2 separate regions of the Homo sapiens genome follow, and region 1 is linked to region 2. The links are contacts of gene promoters, found by promoter capture Hi-C in human tissues and cell types (Jung and others, 2019). All regions are on one chromosome and are shown on one strand. The core of a region is centred on a gene start or on the middle of the fragment in contact, and the rest is flanking DNA. Distances in the headings are between cores, read along the strand shown.

Evidence for each region. The method cuts DNA at HindIII sites, captures the fragments that hold promoters and counts their contacts. A contact is called where the count stands out against the background at its distance.
Region 1: a fragment that was not itself captured here is called in contact with the fragment with the promoter of CNRIP1 in region 2 in 2 of the 25 tissues and cell types used here (hippocampus and psoas muscle).

The regions. Positions count from the first base shown.
Region 1 is chr2:68,234,814-68,238,093 of GRCh38, forward strand. All of the region lies in intron 1 of PPP3R1 (protein phosphatase 3 regulatory subunit B, alpha), which reads right to left. Among named protein-coding and RNA genes, the nearest start is that of PPP3R1-AS1, 15 kb to the right of the region's middle. The HindIII fragment of the contact is 7,084 bases long and covers 1-3,280 here.
Region 2 is chr2:68,318,352-68,321,491 of GRCh38, forward strand. CNRIP1 (cannabinoid receptor interacting protein 1) reads right to left here and starts at 1,598. Exons shown (of 3, transcript NM_015463.3): 1 at 871-1,598. The coding sequence starts at 1,049. The HindIII fragment of the contact is 12,504 bases long and covers 1-3,140 here.

The DNA of each region.
Region 1 (3,280 bases), core at 216-2,715, 84 kb before region 2:
ATTTTCAATAATTATAATTGAGAAAGTAATCTCAAAACAAGAAATAAAGTCCTAGCAATGGGACAGTTCAGATAATGATAAGATACCATATTGACTATGGCCATAGGAAATAGCTGAAGTAGAGAGAAAACTAAAGGTTAGTAAAATGGAGGTGGTCAACAAACACTAAGGCTAGAATGTCCATAAAGATGTAACCTGATGGTGGAACACAGAGGGAAAATGTGAGACAAGTACTTAAATTTTGAATGAAAAATTGAGTAACGAGAAAGATTTGAGTTAGCAATGAGAACAGATAAAGAATGGCTTAGCAGGAAAATGAAGAATAATCTATTATGGGTCAGCAAGCTTTGGCTTGCTGGTCAATAAGCCTACCACCTGTTTTGTTTTATTACCGCTTTATTGAAATATAATTTATATACCACACAAACCATCCATCTAAAGTATACAACTCAATGGTTTTAGTACATTCAAACCATTGTGCAGCCATCACCACAATCAAATTTAGAGCATATTTATTACCCACAAAAGCCTGTATCTACTGGCAGTCATTCCCCAACTCCCCCTCAGGCCAGCCCTAAGTAATCACAAATCTACTTTCTGGCTCTACATATTTGCCTATTCTGGATATTAAATACAAATGAAATTATACAATATATGATCCTGTATGACTGGCTACTTAGTCGAGTATTTTCAAGGTTAATCTAATGTGTTGTAACAAGTATCAACACACTTCTTTTTACTAATGAACATTTCATTCGTATGAACATACCATATTTATCGATTCATCAGTTAATAAACATTTGGACTGTTTCCATTTTTGGCCATTATGAATAATGTTATTATGAACATTCATGTCCAAGTTTTTCACTTCATTTCACATGTTTCATTTCTTTTAGGTATATACCCAGGAATGGAATTACTAGGTCATATGGTAACTCTATGTTTGACATTTTGAGGAATTATTTTCTAATGCAGTTATAAACATTTACATTCCCACCAGCAAGGTTTGAGGGTTCCAGTTTCTCCACATCCTTGACAATACTTATCAGTCTTTTTTGATTATAACAATCCTAGTGGGTGTGAAGTGCTATCTCGACATTTTGATTTGCAATTCTCTAATGACTAATGATGTTGAGCATCTTTGCATGCACTACTGACATCTTCATATCTTCTCTGGAGAAATACCTACTCAGAACCTTTGCCCACTTTTAAATTGAGTTGTCTTTTTATTGCTGAGTTATAAGAATTGTTTATATATCCTGAATAGAAATTTCTTATCAGATAACGATTTTGAGAAACTCCCCCTTTCTGAGAATTGTCTTATTTTCTTGTCTTTTGAAGCTTAGATTTGTTAATTTTGATGATATACAATTTACCTTTTTTTTCTTTCATTGCTTGTGGTTTTGGTATCATATATATTAAGAAACTATGTGAACATGCGTTTGTAAAGTTTTATTGGCATACTGCCACACTCATTCATTTATGTACTGTCTATAGCTGCTTCACACTACAATGGCAGAGTTGAAATGGTGCAACAGACTGTATGGCTCCCAAGCCTCAAATATTTATTATCTGGTCCTTTGCAGAAAGAGTTTTCCAACTCATGATCTAAAACAATGCCAACAACTCCTAATTACCCCTAACCTAAAATGAACAGCTATGCTCCGCTTGAAAGAGCTTCGGGGAGACGATAACCTTCAGAGAGGAAGTAGAATTTTGGTTACAGTAACTAGACAAAATTTTTGGTGAGGAGAATGACAACATGAGGGGATAGCTATGTACTGGTGAGGGAAGAGGTCAGTATAACATCAGAAGCCAGATACAGCTTTTACTATTTAAGATCCCATCAGTAATCTGGGACCATTATTCAGAGTACCTAATAAAATACTGATGAGGTTGTTTTTACTATCATATGGCCTAGACTCTGGTGATGGAAAGTAACCTAGGGCCAGGTTATAAAAACTTAAATGCCAGAGTAAGGAATGTGGCCTTTTTCTAGTATGCAAGAGCCATTGAGATACAATGAGACCTAAGGAAAAACCTCCTATGAGACTTTTAAGGAAGTTTTGCTCCCTAATAAGTACTTAAAGAAGCATTCCCTGCTCTTCTTTGGCCAGATGTTGGTATCTAAAATTGGGGCAGCCCTCTGCTGACATGCAGAGGAGCTTTAAAGTAAGCAAGTCTTATGTTCTTGATGAAACTGAACTGCTGAACCAACCCTGTAACTCTCTGGCTCTGAGCTTCTCATTCTGTGAAATAACAAACTGCTTATTATTTAAGTCACTTTTAGTTAGGTATTGTTACTTGTAGCCAAAAATATCCTGAAACATTCTTGACTCTGTTAATCACTACATTTCTGAATAGTGGGCTGCAAAGAAATTAGGATTATGAAACCTAGACCTGCCAAGAATACTACATACTGGTTTCCAGTAGTTCAATTGATTCCTTAAAAAATGTAAAAAGCATTTTACAATTTATCAAACATCTTAAATAATTACCTACGCCAATACTCAGAAGAACTGTGAATCAGGCAATCTTGTGGTGGTTATTTTACAAATATAACTTTTTTTTAATTTAGAGTACTCCAAAACAGGCCTTCCAATTCCATAGCCCAATCTTGCTCTACCATATCATGTTACTTCTCATAATATCAAATTAAATTTACTGATAAGCAATGTAATCAACAAAAAAATTATAGTATTCTTTCAGCACTTGAACAATTACTTGACATTATACAACTCTATGAGTAATGTGACGAGAATGAATAATAAAATACCAAAACAGCTGCTACATGTTAAGTTCAAACTGGACAAGCAGAGTAGCCAGAAGAAATCTAGCACTTCATAGTAGCGCTACTGAAGCACTTACTATAATATTTCCCTCCACAGTTTCTGGGGCTGTATCTTTTTTTCATTCATCTTTATACCTGAAACTATGTTTGATATATCTAGTAAGTGAACATTAAATGTTTGCTAAGTGAAGGATATCAAAGATGTAGACTTGCACTAACACTTTATTAGCTGTTCTAGAATCTCCAGAACAGCAACAAAAAAAGGTTACAATAAATCAGCTTAGGTAAACAAAGGTAAACACTGTTCATAAATTTTGAGTTTCCTTTATTTATGAAAATGTTTACTTATTGAAAGTAACAACCTGACATATAAGTCTCTACTCAGATATGTAACAAGAATTTTGAAGCATAAAAGATCTCTTTTACAATCAATAGCAGTTTCCTTTCTGGTAGCTCTCCTATTTGTGCCTAACACACTGGGGGTTTTCT
Region 2 (3,140 bases), core at 348-2,847:
CTCTCTGCAGACTAGACTTTGGTAGGTAGAAACGAGAGGTAAAGGGGCTCCACCCGCAGTTCTTCCGGGTAGGCTACTGCATGCTCCCACACACTTTCCCGCCAGAGGTCTACTGGGTGCATTATCCAGCGGTCGCTGGCAAGAAATCGTCCCTGCCATGGATAAACCAAAAAACATCCTCTTGCTGTGGGGATGTTGCTAATCCCAGGCACCATCACCAGCCTGAACAGAAAACTCAGGAGAAAAAGAACAGCATACGGCATGGAAAACCGTGAAACTAGGCCAGAGAAGGGGCGGCCGCTCTCTTACTAGTGTCTGCTGCTCCACCCCAGGGTCCCAGCCACTGAATGGCGAAGGGAGTGGGGAGCATCCCTCAGGGAGCCCCAGTAATCACCCCTCCCCTGCCTTTCCACCTCATTCCTCCTTTCTCCCTCCTTCAGCCTTGCGGGCAGACCCTGTGGGCCGCCTGGACCGCGCGCAGGAGGGCTGGGATTGCGGTGGCTGAACCCTGCGGACCTCTCCCATCTGCTCCACCCCGACCGCCTGCGGTTCCGCGCCCAAGGCTGGACAGAAGGCAGGAGAAATTTATAAGAAACAGACAAGCAAAAACCCTGGCTTCTTGTCACTGATTTTAAAGAACCCACTGAGGTCACTGCGATGGGTGGAGGGAAGCGAGAATGGAGGAATACAAGCCAAAGGGAAGGAAGGGGACGAAGGCGGACAGGGAGTGACCTCTTCCTCCAACCCCCGGGCCCGCTGGGAGCGGCGCGAGGCCAGAGGCCCTTGAGAGGCTCGGGCTGTCCTGGGGGCCTCAGTCCTCTGCCTGTACCCCATGGGGGACCCTGCTGCCACCAGGCGCCCCGCACTCACTCGACCTGCAGCGTGCTGGGTTTAATCTTCACCTCAACCTTGTAGGAGGAGCCGGTGAGCAGCTTGATGGTGCGGTTCTGGCCGAAGCGCTGCCCGTCCACCTTGTAAAAGACCGGGCCGTCATTAGGCTGGATGCGCAGCGCGATGGAGAGGCGCACGAGGCCCGGCAGGTCCCCCATGTCTGGGCGAGGGTCTGGCGCGGCGGCTCCGGGGGGCGGAGGACAGCGCCGGCTGCGGCCGAGTGGCTGGAGCGCGAGGGGCGGAGAGGAAGCGCGGGGAGGGTGAGGGAGGTGGTGGAGCTGAGGCTGCCGCTAGGAACCCGCGCCGTCGCCGCCGTCCGCCCGGGCTTTTGAGGAGCAGCTCCTTAGGCTGTGGCCCCCCTCCCCACTCGGCGAGGAAGCGGGCCCAAGAGACGGCTCCAAGGCCGCGCGCTTCCCCATCCCCCGCTCCAGTGCTGCGCCCTCCACGCACCCGAAGGCTCGCTCTGGCCCGCAGGCCGCCGCGCAGATCCGCGCAGCTGGGGGCGAGGGAGTTAATCCTGTTTACGCACCACAATCCCCTTCAGCTGGGGAAGCGGACATTTAGGCTCCTCCTAGAACAGCCCCGGGCAGGAGGAGGAGAGGTTTGGGAGGCACTGGGAAGGCGCTGGAGTTAAGCGACCACTATGCCAAGGAGCGAGACCCCCGGAATCTGGATACCGCCTCGGCCAGCTACGTGAGGTGGACACTGCTGCTCGCGGATCCGGCGCCAGCCAGGCGGGAGGAGGCTGAGGGGGGGTAAAGGGAGGCGGGAAGGGGGGACAGGAAACCGCTAGCCGGTGATTTAAATTTCAGGAAATATGAGTCTTTCCAAAGCTTAGGGGAAATGGCCGAGGAAAGGCGCAATTCCACGTGATGGAGCCACGCTGGATGAGGAATGGATGCAAGAGGAAGAAAATAACCATATTCAAGGAGCTACATCTTCTTGTGGGTGTACATTTCCATTATACGTATGCTCGTCCCAAAAATGACACATACATAAATATATGTAATGAATCACATATATTTACACAGATTTTGAAGGGTGAGCTATTAACCCTGTAAAAGGCAACTGACATGAGCCTAAGGCATTCTGGTGACAAAATGGCCAAGAGGTGGGATGGGTCAAAGGATTATTGGCAGGGGGCCATATGCGACACCGCAGAGTTTAGATTTGCATATTAAGCGTGATTAGACAGTTTTCGTGGCAGAGGTCGGTAGACAGCTGACTTTTGGAAGCGAGGGGAGACTCAGGGGGTGAGGACTATACTGGGAATGGCTTCCCGGAGCAGAGAGAGCACCTGCTTCAGCACCACCCAGATGGATAGTACCAGAGCCAGGGAGCACACCTGGGAAATGAAGTGGGCTAGTGAGAACAAATGGGTAGGGATGCGTTTCCTTGGCAGTTTTTGTTTACCCAAGTTAGACTGCTCTTTTTTAAGAAATAATAAGCTATACATATAATATATATGTAATATGGGTGTTTATTGCAACATTGGTTGCAAAAATAAAAATAAAACCTAAATGAAATGTTAACCAATAAATAAATGGCTGAATAAATTCTTATATACCCACACTATAGAACGTTACACAACTATCAAAATAATGAAATATAGGTTGCATTGGCAAACACACAGGCAAAAACTGTTAATGATAAAAGTGGGATGGCTGGGAAACAAAGCCTGAGGGCGAGCATTTTGTCTGTTTTGTTTGTTGCTGTTTCCCCAGCATGCCAAAATAGTGCCTGACACATAGTAGGTGCTCCAGAAATCGTTGTTGAATTGACTTACGGTTGTGGTCTTAATCATGTCCATATGTAAATTCTTTCACATCTTTAAAATTAATTAGATCCTTGCGATTTACCTGGAATGATGAAAAGAAATCTAATTGCAAGTAGCATCTCTAGTGTTTTAGAAAAATGAAAATTTAAAAAGAATATAAATGTGTATGTTTGTATTAGCTCTTTTAAAAGAATGAGAGAGTTACACAGTAAACTTAATGTTGGTTATTATGGTTTATGAGTAGTGGAAAGAGGGTGAGTATCTTTTTGGGGTCATTTAAAAGCCTTTTTGGAAATTTTGCCTTTTTTCCTCAACCTTTTGTTTAGCAACCCCACAATCTCAAGCCAACTTCCACCTGTGTATCAAAAAGAGCATTGGACCTGGAGGATGATGACTCCATTTTAAAACCTGGTTCTAAGGCCGGCATGGTGGCTCATGCCTGGAATCCCAGCACTTTGGGAGACCAAGGAGG